2 separate regions of the Homo sapiens genome follow, and region 2 is linked to region 1. The links are contacts of gene promoters, found by promoter capture Hi-C in blood cells and fetal thymus (Javierre and others, 2016). All regions are on one chromosome and are shown on one strand. Each heading gives the region's core, a stretch centred on a gene start or on the middle of the fragment in contact. The rest is flanking DNA. Distances are from core to core; before and after follow the strand shown.

Evidence for each region. The method cuts DNA at HindIII sites, captures the fragments that hold promoters and counts their contacts. A CHiCAGO score of 5 or more calls a contact.
Region 2: a fragment that was not itself captured here is called in contact with the fragment with the promoter of KCNRG in region 1 in 1 of 17 cell types (fetal thymus); the score reaches 6.5 in fetal thymus.

The regions. Positions count from the first base shown.
Region 1 is chr13:50,014,140-50,019,353 of GRCh38, reverse strand. It overlaps KCNRG (potassium channel regulator), which reads right to left and starts at 3,910. Exons shown (of 2, transcript NM_173605.2): 1 at 3,283-3,910. The coding sequence starts at 3,860. TRIM13 (tripartite motif containing 13) reads right to left here. Exons shown (of 2, transcript NM_213590.3): 2 at 887-5,214. All of the region lies in intron 10 of DLEU2 (deleted in lymphocytic leukemia 2), which reads left to right. The HindIII fragment of the contact is 12,687 bases long and covers 3,502-5,214 here.
Region 2 is chr13:51,051,720-51,056,937 of GRCh38, reverse strand. It overlaps the pseudogene GUCY1B2. Among named protein-coding and RNA genes, the nearest start is that of C13orf42, 57 kb to the left of the region's middle. The HindIII fragment of the contact is 1,409 bases long and covers 552-1,960 here.

The DNA.
Region 1 (5,214 bases), core at 2,661-5,160:
AGCACAACTTGGGGTCAAAAGCCTCTGGAGAGTGGAAAGGGCAAAATCTTCTATTCACTGAGGTGCTCCACAGAACAAATGCAGTACACAGAACCAATTCAAGAAAAATGCACATGAGGAGGCGGAGCTTGCAGTGAGCCAAGATGGCGCCATTGCACTCCAGCCTGGGTGACAGAGCGAGACTCCGTCTCAAAAAAAAAAACAAAAGAAAAAAAGAAAAAAATGCACATGAACTTTTCAGATTAGCTATCTGTTGGCTTTAATAATGTCAGCATAGGCTGGGCGTAGTGCCTCATGCCTGTAATCCCAGCATTTTGGGAAGCCGAGGCTGGTGGATCACCTGAGCTCGGGAGTTTGAGACCAGCCTGACCAACATGGTGAAACTCCGTCTCTACTAAAAATACAAAAATTAGCTAGGTGTGGTGGTGCATACCTGTAATCCCAGCTACTCGGGAGGCTGAGGCAGGAGAATCACTTGAACCCCAGAGGCGGAGGTTGTGGTGAGCCGAGATCACGCCATTGCATACCAGCCTGGGCAACAAGAGTGAAACTCCATCTCAATAATAACAATAATGTCAGCATAACACATCTGCATGGATACAGCTTTATGACTCCGTCCTTATCTGCCATCAAAAATGTTTTCATAAAGCTCTTTGTGTCCTCCCACCATTAGTTTATGAGATGTGAAGAAAAAGCTAACTTAGATTAGTTCAGGCAGAAACCTAAACTATCTGTAGTTTTAAGGGATAAAATGATGCTTGGGGACATCCCTAACCTTCTTCTAATGATCATGCTTGAAGTAGAGTGGTTTTTGTAGTTCACATTTAGAAACTCATTCTAAGCAAAGAAACCAATAGTAAAATCTAAGAATTACCAAACTACAAAGCACATCTCAAAAAAAGTTTATTATGTTTGATACAACAGATTCTCAATATTAGCAAATCATTCCACTTACCCCCAAGCGCCAGATCTTGACTGTACAGTCTAAAAACATTTGTCAAAGTGAGAAAAATGTTACAGAACATCTCATAAAAGAATTAAGATACAAATAGTATATACAGATAGTAGATTGTAACAAAGTGGAACGTACTTGCAAGACATCACCTAGCTAAAATACTTGATTCCCTATGAGGACAAACTGAAAAATAAAATATTTCAAGCACACAAAGAAAGGACAAAATAGGGGAAACCAATGGGAAATATAAAGTTTAAACTTATTTTTAACATTTAAAAGCAACTACACTTTTCCATTTGAGCCAGTTCAAAAAGGAGAAGTCAAATAAAGACTTTAGAATCCTGTGACCAACTATAATTTGAGCTTGATAACATGAATGGCATCTGAAAGATGCAAGCCAAGTATTTCTAGTACTGTGACCTTGAGAGATAATAACTGAGCAACCTGCTAGGTTAACCTTGAGGGGTAAATCATATTGATAGAACAAACTGAATAAAGTGAATGATACACCAGACAATTAGGCACCAATTAGGCTCACTTCTCCATTTTCCAAACCTACCAAAAAATATCTGAATAGACAGATAGATTCAGACCAGGGAGTGAGCAAAAAATAAAAATGATTGCTAATTAGGCAATTATATACTAAAAGTGGACCTTTTAAGGCCAGAGTTTTCATCCCAATCACCAGAGATCCCCATAATTTCACCGTATTCAGATTGGCTATCTCTACTTTTAAATTGGCACTGTCTAAAAATTCACAAACATTTATGGAATGGTAAAAATTTTGAGCTTCAAACAATTGAATACCATTTGGTGATGCAAGAAAATGCTAATTTTAAAAATAGCTTCTGATTTTGGAATTATGGAAGTCTAAATATAATGTTTTCTCACTTTAAAATGGAAAAAACTTTCGTGCTGTTTCTAAAACACAACATAAAAAGGGAAAACCATTTGGCACTGTGTACACACAGGAACATCCCAGTTTTAGTTTTTAATCATGTTTTTCAAGGAAACAATTACTTTCTCCAAATGCATGGTTTTTAAAGAGTACTTCGTATTTCCAGGACATCTTCTTTTGACCTAGTGTGTTTCTTCTTAAAAATCAATGACAGTTTTGTCTCTAGGTTTCTGACTTTTTGAAGCATGATCCCCAAAGAGGTCATAATCACTCATATTTTAAAAACCAAAAAAAATTTCATTTTTGTTAAAGTATCCCATCAATGAAAATAAAGTTGTACAGAGGTTTGAGATAAAGATAAGGTATTAGATTTTCTTCACAATCAGCCTACTAGCTTGACTGGCTCTCTTTTCCCAAAATGACATTTCAAACTCTTTTGAAGGACAGGAAGTTATAAAATGTAAACAATTAAGAATTGTCATACTCGGTTATTCTACCTAGTGTCCTCCAGTTGGTAAGCAAGACCAAGGAGTGTGTCGCTAAGAGAGAGAGACACTGGTATCCTTCCTGTTGGCTACTGCTCAAGTTAAGAAAATATCTTAAAATACGCCTACCTTTACCAAAAAAAAAAAAAAAAGTATATTTTAAATGATACCAATAAAGAACACATGCAGGCTTTTCTTTTCCTCCTAAAAATTAAAGCCAGCTTTCACAGTTGGTAAAATAATGGTAGGACAGCATTAAGACATTTTACGGGGGGAAAAATGTTTGTGACAGCAGAGTGGAAATCAGCGTTAGGATCCAGCCAAGAACAACAGAGGGAGTAAGTGAAGAATTGACTCAGGAGCAACTATCCTTAACATACTGACAGCCTATCCCAATATTTTGAGTTGTTTAAGAGCCAAGGCTGTAACAGGATACCAAATTTGCCATGAGATATATCTGTCTTTAAGGGTGTTTAAAAATAAAGTCAGCTGAAGGAAAAACAGTAGTTGAATCATAAAACTGAAAGAACAACTTATATAGTGTGTAAGGAACTCAAGAGAAACCAGTGAGCGAGCCTTTATGTGAACCACTGAAACAATCTCTTAAAAATAAGGCAATTCTTTTCTAAGTCAAATTCATTAGCAATGGAACATAATCTACAAAATTATTTTCTCCCATGATTTGAATGTCCATAGTCTCAGTTTTTTCTGGGCAGTCTTCATTTATTCCTTTTGTCCCACCTAATAATAGCCCCTTTCACTCTAAAAAGTATCCCAGTTTGGAAAATAATTATTTGGTCATTCTACCCAACTCCACTGGTTACCCCAAAACATTATTTTGAATAATCATCTTTTCCAGAAGTTACAGGCCTGAGGAACTTCAAGTTTTTAGAGAAAACATCACAAACTGGTATACAAGAGAAATACTGCAAAGTACAAAATACCTGACTCCAGTTTGGTTATCAGTAGTGCTGTCAGAACCACACTGGAAAACCAGGTCATGGTAAGAAGGTCTTTGTGGAGGCAGTGGAAGTAAGGTCATCTGAGGAGGGAAAAAGTTACCATTCCAGGTCGGCGCTGAAGGTTGTTCTGTAAACACTGTAATCCTCCCTGTTAGCATCTCAATTGTTTTGCTGCAAGAGCCAAACACCCTGAAAAAAGCTTGAGTGTTCCGGCTTAGGAAATGTACCTCCACAAGAGCAGGTCTTGGCTGTAGCAGGTATGGGTTTAAGAGATCAACTAGAGAACGAAGTTCATAGAAAAGAGCCTCTCTCTGAAGCCTAAGATAGTCTGAAAATTCAGTGGGTAATAAAAGCTGGTGAGTTCTCAAAAAATCTAAGATGAAACTAAACAAATCACCATCTCTGTCTACAAAAATCTGGCCACCAACCATCTTGAATTCTTGGTCTCTGCCATCTAACATGCGTGCCAAACGAGAAGCAGGAAACTGCTTTATCGTAGAAAACCTTGTCGTGAATATCTTCCCTCCCACATTCAAAGTGACCAGTTCCTGACTACTCATTCTTCCCTCACTTCAAACTAGAGGCTACCATCAGCCACACTTAGGAAATCAACCTATAACCATAAATGTTGCTAGTTATACATGATTATGCAGTGGAGGGGAGGGAAGAATAACAAAAACCAGACTTAGATTCCCAGGAAACTACTGTAAGGTAAATAGTGTATCCATGGCTGTGTTTGCAAATTCGAGTTGCCTGGGAACTTGCAGTATACAAAATGAAAAAGCAACAGATGAGGAACTAAATAGCTTAAGGAAAACTGCCAATATATCTGAAGATAGACATCAAATAGATCCCTTTCCTGTCTTACATTTAAAAACTTATCCATGAAAACCTAGTAAAACTATATATATATATATATATATATATATATATATATATATATATATATATATATATATTTTTTTTTTTTTTTTTTTTATTACTGGGAGGGGAAAAGCATTCTCCCTCCCCATACCTGTCTACCACGCAGAGGCTAGACTTAAACGTTTTTCTTAATTTCTTATGATCTCCTTAGAAATTTAGTGGCTAAATCATGAATTACATGTTAGGAATGAGACAGCCTGGCAAGCTCAATTTGACTATTCTCATAGCTAGAAGGAAATCATTTCTTCTGTGCTTTAAATTTAGTTGCCACCTTTTATCCTGTCCCCATTTTCATTACCTCCTCTCAACCAAATTAGAGGAGGACTGAGGTAAAGAACTCTTATTTTCAGAAAGTCTATTCCACTTAATGGGCTTTCAAGGAATATCTTACTCTATGACACAAATAAGGCAGACTAGAGAGCAGTTATAAGGTTACTTCTTTGTTATATGAATTCTAAGCAAGGTGTTTATTCCATGAGAGGGTATCTTTATCTCTTGTGAGCAGACAGAACAGCATTAGTGTTCAGCTGATTACTTTGTAATAGCTGACAGACTGTTTTATCTGTTGTCAAATTAGTCTTAACTACACTAAACATTCTTTCTGTAAGCAAGTGGATTGGTTTGGTTGTACACTTGCCATCTTTCGAACAAAACAACACATAGCTGCCAGAAAAAAGGTAGTCTTCCCATTTCCTGCTCTTGCCATGTGTTCTATATATACATATATATGTATATATATGTATGTGTACATATGTGTGTGTGTGTGTGTATATATATATATATATTTTTTTTTTTTTTTTTTTTTTTTTTTTTTTTGGTAGAGACTGGGTCTTGCTATGTTTACGAAGCTGGTTTCGAACTGGAACTCCTAGCCTCAAATAATCCTCCCACATCACTGTCCTAGAATGCTGAGATTATAGACATGAGCCACCCTGCCCAGCCAGCTGATCCTTTTTTTTAACCTATCTATGCTTTTGCTTGCATAGCCAC
Region 2 (5,218 bases), core at 7-2,506, 1.0 Mb before region 1:
GCACTTTGTTTGCAGAACTTAGTCCAGGATTTTACTTCCAAGGATCAGCAATCCACTATGTAAGCTAATGTTTAAAGGAGTTACTATAAAGATTCAGAAGACTCTAACAGAACTCAATTGCAGGAAGTACAGATAAATCTCAGAGGAAACAGAAAGTCAGCAGGTCTGTTTCCAACTCTGCATCTCCCTTCACGTTTACTCTATTTTCCTGGTTATCTCTTCTCTCTGAAAGTCTTTTGATTTCTGTTCCTTTTTTTTTTTTCTGTCACCCAGGCTGGAGTGCAGTGGCATGTTCATAGGTCAGTGCAGCCTCAAATCCTGGGCTCAAGTGATCCTCCTGCCTCAGCCTCCTGAGTAGCTAGGATAAGAGGCACATGGCACTGTGCCTGGTTATCTTATTTTATTTTTTGGTGAGACAGGCTTTTGCTTTGTTGCCCAGGCTGGTCTCAAACTCCTGACTTTAAGTGATCCTCTTGCCTCAGCCTCTCAAAGTGCTGGGATTACAGGTATATGCCACCATGATTGGACTTAATTTCTGTTTCTTCCAAGCTTTTCTATATGCCCTTTGGATTCAAGAGATCACCATCATCAGACTGGCTCAGTTTCTCAGTGCCTCAATTGCAGATGCCTGAGAAAGAGGGTTTGATGGTCTTTGGTCTGGAGTCCATATGTATCCCATTCAGATGGACTTTGGAGGGTGGGGTCTCTAAGAAGAGGTAATGGGTAGAGCCATCAGGACTGACGTATATTCTCCATTGTATAAATAAATACATGAAAACGGAATGAATGATTGGATGATTCATGTGTGTATGAATGGAAGATGAATAAATGAATGAGAGGTGGATGGATGACTACCAAGCCCAACCAACCCATTTAGGAGAGAGGTGGGTGGGATTACATGGCTTCTCTCTATGTCATGGGTTCTTAACCAAAGGTTCATGGATAGGCTTGAGAAGGTCTGAGAACCCTCCGAAGTCATCTATTAAAATGTCGTGTACATGTGACTATATGTATTTTCTGGGGAGAGGGTTCATAGTTTTCATCAGAATCTCTAAGAACTCTACAATCTAAAAAAAATCAAGGAACCCTGATTATGAATCCTTGGGATTTTTGTTCTTGCTAAATAGGAAATGCTGGCCGGGCACAGTGGCTCGCGCCTGTAATCCCAGCACTTTGGGAGGCCGAGGCGGGCAGATCATGAGGACAGGAGTTCGAGACTGGCCGGGCCAACATAGTGAAACCCCCGTCTCTACTAAAAATATAAAAAAATTAGCCAGGTGTGGTCCAGCACCTGTAACACCAGCTACTTGGGTGGCTGAGGCCAGAGAATCGCTTGAACCTGGGAGGCGGAGGTTGCAGTGAGCCGAGATCGCTCCATTGCACTCCAGCCTGGGTGACAGTGTGAGACTCCATCTCAAAAAAAAAAAAAAAAAAAAGGCTGTTAACATTGTGACATCCTGAGAAGCATTCCTTCGAGCCCAGTATATCGCAAAGCTAATTGAGCCAGAAAAAGTCAGAATTCATTCATTCCCTTTTCTGCTATCCCTCGTCCATCCAATTGACTCACCAAATTTCTCACCCTCTCTTCAAGACTGAAAACCCCTGGCCCTCCATGTTATCTACTTTTCCCATAAATAAAGTCTAGTTTAAAAGTAGCTGAAAGCAGAGAGTTTTTATTTTTAACTTTGATCCAAAAATGTTGCTTGTCTCCCCACTTCTGTCCCTTTCCTGGCCACAAACATTTTTGCTGGTTCATCTAGCTGCCTGAAACCACAGCCCCTCAGAGCCAGAAGGGCCCTTAGAAATCAATCTGGTCAGAGCATTTCACCTGGAGGACTCAGCCTCCAAAAGATCATATGAGAATATCTGTGGGAAATTCTAAAAATATAGTGAATATTATAATATTAAATATACAAAGCAGAAGTATTTTTTTCTAACAAAAGCTGTCAAAGGTAAAGCTTGAGAAATACTTTTGTTTAGTATGACTATATGGAAGATAAATTTTCTTCTTCCTTTTTTTTTTTTTTGAGATGGAGTCTCGCTCTGTTGCCCAGGCTGAAATGAAGTGACGCGATCTTGGCTCACTGCAACCTCTGCCTCCCAGGGTTCAAGCTATTCTCTTGCCTCAGCCTCCTGAGTAGCTGGGATTACAGGCATACTCCACCACACCTGGCTAATTTTCTTACTTTTAGTGGAGACAAGTTTTCACCATGTTGGCCAGGCTGGTCTCGAACCCCTGACCTCAAGTGATCTGCCCACCTTGGCCTCCCAAAGTGCTGGGATTACTGGCATGAGCCACTGCGCAGGGCCTGGAAGATAAACTTAGTAGGAGTAGAAACAGATATCACGAGGCCTGAAGCTTATATAATTTGGGAAGCCTCCTTTAAAAAGAATATAATTACCAATAAAAATTTAGCTACAAAAATAAGTACTCTTCTTAGAATTAAGGAAGAAAACTTTAAAGCTGACAGATAACATAAACATCAAAAGCTGGAAACATGTTTTTATTGTTAGTATCATAAATTAACTAACCCTCTTTTATAATACTTTCCTGCATCTTTGGCTGTATTTTGCTTTTTCTGTTCATTGGACAATGATTTTATAATGTCATTTTCTATAAAGAGGATAGAATGAATATTCTAGCATGGCTGGCTGAAAATTGTATTTATTGTATTTTGTTTTCATTGTTAGCTTAGACAAATTTCTTTATGCACATCCATAACTTTCTCAGCAGTTTCTTGCTGAAGTGTGCTTCTTTCATGTTGGCAAGTCCTGGGAAAACTCCAGCGTTTGATCTCCCTCGACCTGTTCCACCCATCTCCCCTACTTTTACGCAAGTCCTCTTGGACCAGGCGGTCCCCACTGGGAATGCGCAGCCTCTCTTTCAGATGCCTTTTTGGGGGTTAGAGTAGAGTCTGGATGTGTGTTGAGTCTACCAGAAGCAAGTGGTCCTGAGGACTGGGTGGTCTGCAGCCCCACCCACAGGCATCCAGGACCACTACCAGGGCATATAAGGTGACCCCTCAGGCTGGGGATGGCTTCAAGCTAGAGGGGGCCAGGTGAGGCTGCTTCCTCCCTGTCCTGGAAACCTCAGCTTCATTAGCTTCCAAAGCAAACCTGAAGCACTCTTGATTTAAATCAGAAGTTCTTAAACACTTTGGTATTCAGAAGCCTTTATACTCTCATAAATTATTGAAGACCCCACAGAGCTTTTGTTTAATCTATGGGTATTTATGGTATTAGAAATTAAAACAAATTAAAAAAACATTTTTAAATTTATCTAAAATAATTATATGTTATATAATTATGCTGTAATACATAATAGTACATGTTAGTGTAACATTTTTATGATAACTATATTATTCAAATAAATTAATGACAAGATGGCATTACTTTACAGTTCTGGAAATCTCTTTTAATATCTGACTTAATGGAAGTAATGGAAGTGGGATTCCATCTTCCGCAATGTATGTATTCTGTGATATGATTTTGGTTGAAACTTGTGAAGAAAATATGGAAGGAAGAAGAATTTAATACTCTTCTCAGATAATTGTGGCTATTCTTTTAAACCTCACAAAAGCTTGACAAATCGTATTTTCTCAAAGGTCAGTTATAATGTTGAATCTGTAACTGTACTGATGACCTTCTTCGTACTCTGTTATATTAAAATCTCTTGATCTGTGTTACACTTGGATAGAAATTTTTTCGCATCATTTTGTACTAGCTTGCATGAGTTATTTGGAAACTATTAGCTCACTGACTTGTGCTAATCTTACAAATGTTGACATGTTTCACTATACAATATCAAAATTGCATTTGTCAATATCATCATCACCTTAGCCTCTAAGGATTGGGATGCTAATAAGCTTACAGTATAAGATGCAACTTTTTTCCCCAAACTTGAGTTTTGTCATTGGCAACACATTCTGCCAGTTATTTTCCTTGAAGTGACAGGCTAACTTTGTTATTTTCTTAAGAGAATGTGTGCCAAATATCCAAGTCTGAGTAACCATAGTTCGTCTGTCAGTGGTTTTTTAAGTGGAAATGATGTTCCATTAAAAAAAGTGGCTAATTCATCTCATAACTCAATCGTGTAAGTACTTTTCCTGGAAGTGACCATTCACACTCCTGCATATAGGAGAAGTACTTTATTTGAGTGCGTACTTCCCATTCTGTTACACAAAATATTCAAAAGATGTATACTCAGGGTCAAGATTTCATAACATTAGTAATTTTTACTACCTCAAAATGAACAACCTAAAGTAAAACTGGCATTTTTTTTTACTGCACATATGTGACAATGAGGGATATGATGACTATAAATAATATACTGAAGATTTAAAAAAAGAATATAATAGTTTTGTGCCACTGTCTTGATTCATGCTATAAGGCACCAAATTTTACTCACCAATGCTTATGTGCCATTAGTGCAAATATGAATCAGTACAAAAGGCAAATAATGTCTTAATTTGGTTTTGAAAATAGTTTGGCCTCATGGATTCCTAAAAACACCTTAGGTATTCGCAGGGGTTCCATGGGTCATACTTTGAGAACTGCTGGCTTAAATGCCTTAAGCATCCTTCTAAGTGAATCAGAGGTCAAGGAAGGAGACATCATTGGTGGCTGAGGGAGAGAAGGGGAGGACCAGACATGACAGTCTTCATGACAATGACCTAGTTGAATACTATCTTTGTAAAAATGAAGAAATGGAGGCACAGTGAGATTTGCTCCAAGTCATCCAGCTAGATGGTGGTAGAGCCAGGGTTAACTCCTAGGTCTCCTCCTGACACACAGAGTCTGTGAGCCTCTGTCAAGTTAGGTCTCTCACCGAAATTATCTTACAATTATTTATTGAGTACTTGTTGTGTGCCAGGTACAGGGCTAGGTATTGAAGATATTAAATCAAATGACATTGTCATGATCCTTCAACTTGGTAGTCTAGGAAGCATGCAGATGGGCAAATCAATTCCACTCGCAGTTAGCACGAAGACAGGTGATACAGAGAGCACGGGGGGCTCAGAGCAGGGACGCCCGGATCTGCAAGTGGCTGAGAATGTCCAGAATCGGGATTCTGACACTGAGTTGGGAAGGAAGAATCAAGTTAGCCAGATCAGGGAAAGTGAGAGCTTTTCTAGTGGAGCAGAGCCTGTGGGAAGGCAGGGAAGAGAGGAGTTTGAGTAGCTGGAGGAATGGATGTATGGGATAAATGGCTGGAGGT